2 separate regions of the Homo sapiens genome follow, and region 2 is linked to region 1. Evidence: promoter capture Hi-C in human tissues and cell types (Jung and others, 2019). All regions are on one chromosome and are shown on one strand. The core of a region is centred on a gene start or on the middle of the fragment in contact, and the rest is flanking DNA. Distances in the headings are between cores, read along the strand shown.

What was found. Contacts are between HindIII fragments. The study calls those that stand out against the background at their distance.
Region 2: a contact is called between the fragment with the promoter of HEPN1 here and a fragment that was not itself captured in region 1, in 4 of the 25 tissues and cell types used here (H1 embryonic stem cells, IMR-90 fibroblasts, adrenal gland and 1 more).

What each region holds. Positions count from the first base shown.
Region 1 is chr11:124,832,273-124,837,759 of GRCh38, forward strand. It overlaps MSANTD2-AS1 (MSANTD2 antisense RNA 1), which reads left to right. Exons shown (of 5, transcript NR_103862.1): 5 at 614-2,215. Among named protein-coding and RNA genes, the nearest start is that of ROBO3, 30 kb to the right of the region's middle. The HindIII fragment of the contact is 4,862 bases long and covers 182-5,043 here.
Region 2 is chr11:124,915,095-124,920,581 of GRCh38, forward strand. It overlaps HEPN1 (hepatocellular carcinoma, down-regulated 1), which reads left to right and starts at 4,156. Exons shown (of 1, transcript NM_001037558.4): 1 at 4,156-5,487. The coding sequence starts at 4,657. The coding sequence ends at 4,923. It overlaps HEPACAM (hepatic and glial cell adhesion molecule), which reads right to left. Exons shown (of 7, transcript NM_152722.5): 7 at 4,111-5,487. All of the region lies in intron 1 of LOC107984406 (a long non-coding RNA gene), which reads left to right. The HindIII fragment of the contact is 7,901 bases long and covers 590-5,487 here.

The sequences.
Region 1 (5,487 bases), core at 1,363-3,862:
ATGGTGCGATCATGGCTTATTGCGGACTGGAATTTCTGGGCTCAAGTGATCCTCCTGCCTCAGCCTCCTGAGTAAGTGGGACTATAGCCATGCGCTGCCATACCTGGCTAATTAAAAAAAAAATTAAAGAGACTGGGTCTCTCCCTCTGTGTTGCTCAGGTTGGTCTCAATCTCCTAGCCTCAAGCAATCCTCCTGCTTCAGTCTCCTGAAGTGTTGAGATTACAGGTGCTAGCCACTGTGCTTAGCTATCAATGAGTTTTCGGTTGTATTTGCACATGCATACTAAAGAGGCAAGAAAAAAAAAACTGAAGATACCAGCTATGCGTCCTCCAATTCTAACTCCAGCAGATACCAGCTGTGCATCCTCCAATTCAATTCTAACACCTTCCACCTGGAGACAGGCTCAGTCACATCCCACAGGCTGCGGGCTCAGTCCCACAAGGCTGCCCCACTTCAAACGCCAGTCATAACCACAGGCTGTAACCTGTGCTTCTGACCAAGCAACTATAAATTGAGGTTTTCAGGGCCCTCACCTTGGGTTTGATTAATTTGCTAGAGTGACTCATAGACCTCAGGGAAACACTTTACTTACACTTACCCATTTATTACAAGGATGTTACAAAGGACACAGATCAAGAGCCAGCTGGAAGAGATGCACAGGGAAGGGGTGCGGAGCTCCCATGCCCTCTCCAGGGCACCACCCTCCAGGCACCTCCATGTGTTCAGCTATCTGGAAGCTCCCCAGACTCTGTCCTTTTGGGTTTTCATGGAAGCTTCATTATGTAGGCATGAATAATTATATCATTGACCACTGGTGACCAACCCAAACTTCAGATCCTTTCCCTTCCCCAGAGGTTGGAGGGTGGGGCTGAAAGTCCCAGCCCTCTAATCATGGCTGGGCCACCATTTACCTCATTAGCATACAAAAGACTCCTGTTGCTTTAGAGATTCCAAGGGTTTGGGAAGCTATATGTCAGGAGACAGGAGAAGACCAAATATATATTTCACAGTATCACACACACATACTCTCTTGATCACAGGTGAAGTTTTGCCCAAAGCAACAGAAGTGAAGCAAGCTTCTATTCTCACAGAGGTTTGGGTCCGGTAGATACTAATAACTTCTATTCTCTGATGCATTGTAGTAGGGCAGACATTAAGCATTTCATGTGCATTTTTTTTTTCTTTTTGAGACAGGGTCTCACTCTATCTCCCAGGCTGGAGTGCAGTGGCACTAACACAGCTCACTGTAGCCTCAATCTGCAGGGCTTAAGCGATCCTCCCACCTCAGCCTCCTGAATAGCTGGGATTACAGGCATGCACTACCATGACCAGCATATTTGTATTTTTTGTAGAGACGGGTTGTTACTATGTTGCTCAGGCTAGTCTTGAACTCCTGACCTCAGCCTCCCAAGTAGCTAGGAATACAGGCACATGCCACCACAGCCAGCATATTTTTGTATTTTTTGTAGAGACAGCTTACTGCCATGTTGCTTAGGCTGATCTTGAACTCCTGAGCTCAAGGGCTCCACAGGCCTTGGCTTCCCAAAGTGCAAGGACTAAGGTGCAACTGCCACACCCAGCCTTTCATATGTATTATCTTATTTAAGCTTCACTTTACAAGTGAGAAGGGCAGCCTTGGCTCAGAGAAGTTAGGTGACTTGCAGCAAATCACATAATTGCTAAGTGATGGATCTGAGCTTTAGCCCCAGGACTATCTGACCTTGGGTCTAAACTTATACTACTGTATTTTTCGTTAAGTCAGTCAGAGTTCTATCCTTTGACAGAAAGTATAACCTTCTTTTAAGGCAGAATAAGACCCTCTGCCCAACCCTGCTCTTTCTTTCTCCTCCGCACTAAGAAGACAGCGAATACAGTAGAGGGTTTTGGACTGGGATAGTGGTTGCAGAGAAGATCTGGAACTAAAAATATGGACCAGGGGTAGAAATGGTGGTGATTCCACCAAACTTGGAAACACTTAACAAGACCCCATAACATGCAAGATATGCAAGAAATGGGGTACATTTTCTATACCAGTGCCTTAAGTAAAAAAATTCCTTGTTAAACAAATGATTTAGAGAAGACAGAACCAAATATATATATATAGCTGTGTGTGTATTCTAATAAAGGTTGTTAAAGTCTTAAAGTTAGTGGTGGGAGAAAACAATAAAAAAATATGAAATCTCCCTATGTTAATAAACTAATTTCAAATACCAAGGGTTGGTTTTTGGTTGGGTGAGTCTGTTTTTGCCTTGATTAAAAAGAAGTGATTTTTTTCTTCAGCCTAGTTTTCCTGGTATGAAAGGCAAGAAGGAATGACATTCCATAACTGTTATAGAGGTGAAAACAGTTTTATTTATTGGTGGTCATTACCGGCCTATAACCAGGGCACAACCTTCTTGGTAAACATTTACCAAGCATTAGTGGAAGATGATTCACTAACTTTTAAAACTCTCCTTCCCTTATATGCATATTAATACCACGATATCTTTAGCTTTTAAGTCCATATATACAGGCACAGGTGCGAATAAATTCAAACATATCACTTGTAGTGGTTTACATAAGGGCTTGCTAGTTCAAATGGGGTTGTTAGTTTTGCATCTCAAATTAGTTCCTGTCAACCCAGCAACTAAAGAAAATTCCTTTGTGAAAAAAGTTTCCAGGCATGACCCAGTAATTGTTTTAATGGATTTTCAATGAAGGGTGAAGTACCATGCTATGTAGCCTGTGGGCATTCCATAAATATATTTTGACTGATTCTGTTAACAAACTACATAGAAAAAACCAAATACTTACTATCCAATCCTCTTATATTGTTTCCCATAGGCTCTGTCTGTTAGTGTATTTATAAGCATTTAAAGTGTATAAGGGAGCTCTGGCAGTGAGAGTGAATTGCCCAATGCAGAGAAGCACTCTGGGCTGGAGGGTTTTACTTAGTCTAAGATTTTCTTTTTTTTTTTTTGTGAGACGGAGTCTGGCTCTGCCGTCAGGCTGGAGTGCAGTGGCATGATCTTGGCTCACTGCAGCTTCCGCCTCCTGGGTTCAAGCGATTCTCCTGCCTCAGCCTCCCGAATAGCTGGGAGTACAGGTGCATGTCACCACGCCTGGCTAATTTTTGTATTTTTAGTAGAGACAGGGTTTCACCATGTTGGCCAGGATGTTCTCGATCTCTTGACCTCGTGATCCACCCTCCTCGGCCTCCCAAAGTGCTGGGATTACAGGCGTGAGCCACTGTACCAGGCTACTTAGTCTAAGATTTTCAGTGTGCACCTGAGATTTGCCCTTTCCAAAATGAGGAAGAGGCCTGAAGCCGATCAGCTGAAAGAAGTACTAAGCCCTGCAGGCTGAAAAGGTAATGTCCCACCTATGCTGGAGGACCTGATGTTGGTATAGTCAATTTTCTGTCTTCTATGTAAGGTATAGATCTGCTCTGATCTTGACATTGTGAAGAAAGCTACTATACTGTCAGAATCTGCTGTAATATAGCCCTGAGATGAGAAAGGTGTGTAGAACAGAAATCTTCACTGCCCTTCTCCCAAAACATTCATTGACCCCTCCTGTAAGATATATATATATATATAATTATTATTTTTTCTAGACAGAGTCTCGCTCTGTTGCCCAGGCTGGAGTGCAGTGGTGCAGTCTTGGCTCACTACAATCTCAGCCTTCCAGGTTCAAGGTTCCCAGGTTCCCAAGCAGATTCTCGTGTCTCAGCCTCTTGAGAACTGGGGCTACAGGCACACGCCACCACACCTGGCTAAGTTTTATATTTTTAGTAGTGATGGAGTTTTGCCATGTTGGCCAGGCTGGTCTTGAACTCTTGATCTAAGGTGATCCGCCAACCTTGACCTCCCAAAGTGCTGAGATTACAGTCATGAGCCACCGCGCCCGTCCTGCATTCTTGCTGTGTGTGTGTAACCCTTGCTATAGTTATATAATTTAGGTTGAATTTAATTTATACGTTGACTATGATCTGAGGGTCAAGATCATTTGGGATAAAGGAGAGATCAACTACATGTCCGTATACTGCAAGTTAGAATTTAGTTAAGAAGGCCCTGAGTAGATTCCAGAATTATAATAAAGCTTTCATTTTTAGTTTGAGGAAACTTCAATATGGGCGACAGAACAAAGAACTCGGGTGGTAGGAATTAAGTTGGTAGGAATTAAGAGGGTGCCTGCCAGACGGGCTGGAAGTGAAGGAAGCCATGTGCCTGCAAAGCTGTTTAGGGCTGCCATGTGTTTATGCCCTGGCAGAAACCTCTGGTTAGAAGTTAGATCGCTTACATTTTTCTTAAGTAACCCATTTTGTTACATCCATATGTTTTCCCTCTTTCCAGAAGGAAAAAAAAGTATCAGCGAGCCCTTCCTCACGGATCAGGAAGCTCAAGGGATTACTCAAGTACATTGGCGGCAGTTACAAAGATATTTTCTTTTTTTTTTTTTTTTTTTTTGAGACGGGGTCTCGCTCTGTTGCCCGGACTGGAGTGCAGTGGCGCGATCTCGGCTCACTGCAAAGCTCCGCCTCCCGGGTTCACGCCATTCTCCTGCCTCAGCCTGCCAAGTAGCTGGGACTACAGGCGCCCGCCACGACACCCGGCTAATTTTTTGTATTTTTAGTAGAGACGGGGTTTCACCGTGTTAGCCAGGATGGTCTCGATTTCCTGACCTCGTGATCCACCCGCCTCGGCCTCCCAAAGTGCTGGGATTACAGGCGTGAGCCACCGCGGCCTACAAAGATATTTTCAAGCATTGTTCTCCCTACCCCAAATTTCTGAGTCATTTAAGTAGAGAAACAGCTCTTTTGCCCTGGCTCATATATGAAAAAAGTAGAATTCAGGCCAGGCTTCAAGTCTAGGGATGATTCTCATTAATGAGGTTAGGTCTGCCACCTGGTGGTGAGAAATAAAATGCCACTTGATTTTCTCATCTGATCTGTCCATATACCACACTTAAAAATTCCACTTTGCAAATCCATCCTTAACCTCTGACTCGGGTTGTGCTTGCCGCCAGCCAAAAGTTCCCAACTGATGACAACGGCACCGACACCTTGGGGAGAATTTTTAGGCAACCATCTGGAACTCATTCCCTATGAACACATTTGAAGTGTTTTAGAACACTGGTAGGTGGTTCTACAACACTTCAAATGTGACTTAAGGTAGATTTTAGGAGAACAAGGTTCTCCTAAAGAGGAAAGATAGCACTAATTCATTCATTAGTACACAAACTATTGTGTAAAAAAAAACTATGCTCTTCAATTTGTAAACAAATGTGTAAGACAATGCCCCGCTCCATCAGTGACAAAGAGATGGGAGTGGATAACCAAGTTAGGCTGGGAAAATAAGAGTAATTCTTGCTTCCCGTTGAAAGGCTGAGGAGAGTGCAGAATCATCTGAAGCCATTAGGGGGAGTGCTAAGTCTTCAGAAACACACACACACACACACACACACACACACACTCGAATACTAGAATATGAATTCTGGAATATGTC
Region 2 (5,487 bases), core at 2,906-5,405, 84 kb after region 1:
TTTCTCTTCCTACTTTTAGAATCCTTTCTTTATTATTGACCTTTGGGAGTTTGATTATTGAATGTCTTGAGTTAATGTTATTTGGGTCAAATCTGCTCAGTAACCTTCTTGCACTTGAATATTGATATCTTTCTCTTGGTTTGGGAAGTTTTCTGTTATTATCCCTTTGAATAAACTTTCTACCCTCATCTCTCGATTTTCTCTTGAAGGCCCAAAACTCTTAGATTTGCCCTTTTGAAGTTATTTTCTTGATATCGTAGGCATACTTTCATTCTCTTCTATTCTTCTTCCTTTTGTCTCCTATAACTGTGTATTTTCAAATAGCCTGTCTTCAAACTCACTAATTCTTTCTTCTGCTTGATTAATTCCACTATTAACAGATTCTGATGTGTTCTTCAGTATTTCACTTGCAGTTTTTAACTCCAGAATTTCTACTGGATTCTTTTAAATTATTTCAATCTCTTTGTTAAATTTATCTGATAGGATTCTGAATTCCTCTCTGTGTTCTCTTGAATTTCTTTGAGTTTCCTCAAAACAGCCATTTTGAATTATCTGTCTGAAAGGTCACACATCTGTGTCTCTCTGGGATTAGTCACCGGTGACTTATTTAGTTCATTTGGTGAGGTCATATTTCCTGAATGGTCTTGATGCTTGTGGATGTTCATTGGAGTCTGGGTTTGTTTGCACCCTTCCTTCCTGGGAAGGCTTTCTAGGTATTCAAAGGAACTTGGGTGTTGTGATTTAGTTTTTGGTGACTGCAGCTGTATCTGCATTAGGGGGCACCCCAAGTCCAGTAACACTGTGGCTCCTGCAGACTTGAAGAGATACCACCCTATGGTCTTAGATAAGATCTAGAAGAATCCTCTGGATTATCAGACATAGACTCTTATTCTCTTCCTTTTCTTTCTCCAAAACAAGCAGTCTCTCTCTCCTCTCCTCTCCTCTCCTCTCCTCTTCTCTCTCCCTTTCTCTCTCTCTCTCCTTCTCTCTCTGTTTGTGCTGAGCTGCCTGGAGCTGGAAGAAGGGTGACACAAGTATCCCTGTGGCCACCATCACTGAGACTGTGCTGCGTCAGACCTGAAGCCAGCACAGCACCAGGTGTCACCAAAGGCCTGTGGTAACCACTGTCTGGCTACCAGCTATGTTCGCTCAAGGCCCTAAGGCTCTAGAGTCAGCAGGTGGCAATGCCAGCCAGGCTTGTATCCATTACTTCAGGGTGCCAAGTTTCCACCAGTCCTGGGCAGGTCCAGAGATGTCACCTGGGAGCCAGGGCCTGGGGTAAGAAACTTTAGGAATCTACCTGGTGCTCTATTTTACTCCAGCTGAGCTGGCACCCAAGCCCAAGGCAATGTCTTTCCCACTCTTCCCTCTCCTTTCCTCAAGCAGAGGTGTCTCTTCCCTTGGTCACCACTGCCCCAGGCCCATGGTCAATACTGCCTGGCTACTGCTGATGTTCATTCATGGATCAAGGGCTCTTGAGTCAGCTTATGAATGCTGCTAAGCATAGGACTCTCCTTTCTAGGCAGTGGGCTCCACTATGGCCACTAGGGCAGGTCCAGAAATGCCATACAAGAGCTAAACCCTGGAATTGGGGACCCCAAGAGCCCACTTGGTTCTCTACCGCACTGAGGCCACACCGGTACCTAAGCTGCAAGACAAAGTCCCCTTTATCCTTCCTTCAACTTTTCTCAAGCAGAAGGAGCCCCTTCCCATAGCCACCACAGCTGGAAAGGTGCTTGGTGACATCTGAAGCCAACATGTCTCTTAGTCTCACCCAAGGCCAATGGCAAGTACTGCTTGGGTTCTATTGCAAATTATTGAGGGCCCTTGGGCTCTAGAGAGAGCAGGTGATGAATGCTGCCAGGACTGGGTCATTCCCTTCAAACCAATGGGTTCCCTTCTGGCCCAGGGTGTCTAGAAATGTTGTCTGGGAGCTAGGGCCTGAAATGGGGGACTCAGGACTCTGTCTTATGCCCTATCCTACTGTGGCTGAGCTTGTCTTATGCCCTGTCCTACTGTGGCTGAGCTGATATCCAAGTTGCAATACACAGTCCTGTTTACTCTTCCTGCTCCTCTCCTCCAACCACAGAAAGGAGTCTTTTTCAAAGCTGCAAGCTGTGATGCCTGGTGTTGGCAGAGGGATGATGCAAGCACTCCCTTGGCTGCACCAGCTGGTGTCTCACTAGATCATATGCTCAAGTCCACTGGCTTCAAGCCCAGCACAGCATCAGGAATCCCCCCTAGAATTGCAGTCCTTGTGTCCTAGACAGACTTTTAAAAGTTTATTTAGGACCCCAGAGCACTTTAACCCATGGTCGTGAGTCTTTTTGGAATTCAGGTTCCAACCACTGGGATGTGTAATTCCTCTCTGGCGAGGGCTGGTCTAAATGCTCCTTCTGTGGGTGCTGGCTGAGTTCTGCCTGGTGTTGTTTCTCCCTGTGACAGGGCAGCACTGCGTTCCAATGCAAAGCCCCACAATGACTGCACTCTCCCTCCCGCAAGTGCAGAGATTCTCTCTCTGTTCCATGCGGCAGCTGCCGGGTGATGAGGGAGGGGTGGTGTCAGCAATTCAAGACTGTCTTTCTTACCTTCTTCAGTGCCTCTTTCAGTGATATGAAGTTAAAACCAGGTATTGTGATCACTCATTGGATGTTTGGTTGTTATGAGGGTGCTTTTTTTGTGTGGACAGTTGTTCAATCTGGTGTTTTTGCAGGAAGACAATCAGTGAAGGCTTCTATTCAGCCATCTTGCTTCACCTCCCTTGGTAATCTCATATTTAATGAGTGCTAAGTACTTTGAGCTCACTGTGCTTTTAAATTTTGTTTTACTTCTGACTGCTTAAAAATTTCCCCCATCTCTGGCAGGGAAGTGGCTCATGCCTGTAATCCCAGCACTTTGGGAGGCCAAGGTGGGCGGATCATGAGGTCAGGAGTTTGAGATCAGCCTGGCCAACATAGTGAAACCCTGTCTCTACCAAAAATACAAAAATTAGCTGGACATGGTGGCACGTGCTTGTAGTCCCAGCTACTCGGGAGGCTGAGGCAGGAGAATCACTTGAACCCAGGAGGCAGAGGTTGTAGTGAGCCTAGACTGCGCCATTGCACTCCAGCCTGGGTGACAAGAATGAGACTCTGTCTGAAAAAAAAAAAAAAATTCCCCCATCTCTTGAAGCCAGCAATGCAAAACAAATATCATTTAAGCAAGACCTAGTTGTTTTGAAACAGGAAGACCTCTCAAACATCTAGTCTCAAGTATTTAGCAGAGAAGTTCCACATATCACTTTTTACCTGTTGCAATCTGGCTTTAACCCCTACTACATGTCTGAAACTACTTATGCCAAGTCACTCAATGTTTTCATTGTTGCCAAATTTAACATGCACTTTTAACTTCATTTCATATGTGAGCCCCCTGCCCTTGTAGTCCCGAATGCTCCCTTTTTCTTGAAACTCTCTTGTTCTTTTGATTGTGTGATATAGTTATCTCCTATATATTCTCCTATCTTGCTGGCTGTGCCTTTTAAGCCTTCTTGGTGAAGTCCTTTTAAATTTTCTACACATACTGATGCCTCAGAAATCTATCTGCAGCTTTCTTCACCTTCTACTTTGTATACTTTCCTGAAATAATTTCATCAACTGCTAGGCTCAGTACCCTGAATTCCCCCCCATCGTGTCTTGCACTTCCAAGCTTTTATACATGCTTCTCCCTCTGCTTGGAGTGTGTCCTCTCATACTTTTAAAAACCAGATTAACTAACAAGTCTTTCTAAGAAAGACTCAACTCAGGTCTGTTCTCCTCCAAGATGCCTTTGCTGACATCTAATCTACATGCTCCCAGAGCACCTTGTATCTACTTCTGCCATTGCATTTTACACACTATATTGTAATCTGTTTACTGATCTGTCTTCCTGACATAGTTATGCTGTATCAGCAGTGTCTAGCACAGGGCCTAGTCCATGGTAGGTAAACAAATGTTTGTCGAATAAATAAAAGAACACCTGAATAAGTAAATGAATGAACGGGTAAGTGATTTTGGAACGGACAATTTGGGGTTTGGAAAGAGGGTAAAGGAGGTGAAAGGAGAAGAAGAGAAATGACTGGTATATTTAAGCAGCTTGTTTTGTTACCCTTGTTTATGTGGAATAAAGTTGTCATTTCATTTCATCAAAAGTTTATTGAGCATCCAGTATGTGCTAGGCACTCTGCTGGATGCTAGTAATACAAAGATGAAGATGAAAACAACACAAAAACAAACCCCACTTCCTTACTTACCCCTCCCCACCCCCAATTTAAGGCAGATTTGGCTTAAGCCTGGCAAGCTGGCCCCTCAGGGATTCAGCACCAGGGTATGGCATGTTCTCATCTCACCCTAACCTTCACCTGTGCATCTCAAGGCTGACCAGCAGGTACTCCTTATCCAAGTCCTGCTGCCTCTTCCACCTTCTTGAGAAACTTTTCCCCTACATGCATTATCTCATTATGGATGAGGCACCTGGGAAGTTTAGGGGAGCTGCGAAGGCACACCTGCTCAAATGAGCCTGGGGAAGTGCCGAGGGACAGGGAGCTGAGACAGGCATGCTGTGGGGTTCAGGGCAGAGGGGGCAAACTAGAAATGTCAGTGCCTTTGGGGCTGAGACAAAACTTGACCTGGTGTGGAGGTGATGGGTAACTGGGGCCTTGGAATTGCTCCATGGGTTGATGGCGAATCAGAGCTGGAGTTTAGGAGACTAGGGATGCAAGGACCCTTGGAGGCATTAAGGAGGAGGGAATGGAATACACAGAGGGCCTCCTTCTCTTTCAGCTTTTTAATTGCCCTCTCTCCTCACACAGTAGATTACTGCCACTCCTATGAACTGTTCAATAGGCGGTGGCATGGGCATGTCCTGGCTACACAGCGGCCCAGCCTCTTTATTTTGATGTTAGTGTGATTAGGGAGTCTGCCCTTTTTCTGTGCCCTGGGACCTGAGCATGTGGGAGCAGGGCAGATGGGTGGCAGGAGGCCAGGGGTTGGATCATGTTCCCCCCAAATGCTGGGAAGCAATAAGCCTCCTCCTCCCCCCACCATTTCTCTGGAGATTAGGACTTATTCTCACAGCTGGAGGAAGCTCAACAACTTTCCTGAGGACAATGATTGTTTGAAAGGCTTGTTTTGTAAGGAAGCCAGGAGGAATATATGAGTTTGATGAGCTAAAACAGTTCCTCATTTGGTCTAGTTTTCGGGCCAGGGGAGTAAGTGAAATTCACTTCTCTATAAGAATAAGCCCATCCATCTCTTTTATTCATGAACAGAGACAGAAAGAGTGCTTGGCATGGCATGCCTCCGAGGGAGGCTGTGGGAGGAGGCCAAGCTGGCAGGCTCGGGTTCTTTGCCCTTGCTAGCGCCCAGGTCAGAGGGAAAAGGAATGTACTCGTACCCTTCCCTCACCACCTTGTAGGTCCCCAGGTACCAGGTGCCCAGGGAAGAAGGCCTTCACAATGATCCCCCCAGCTCA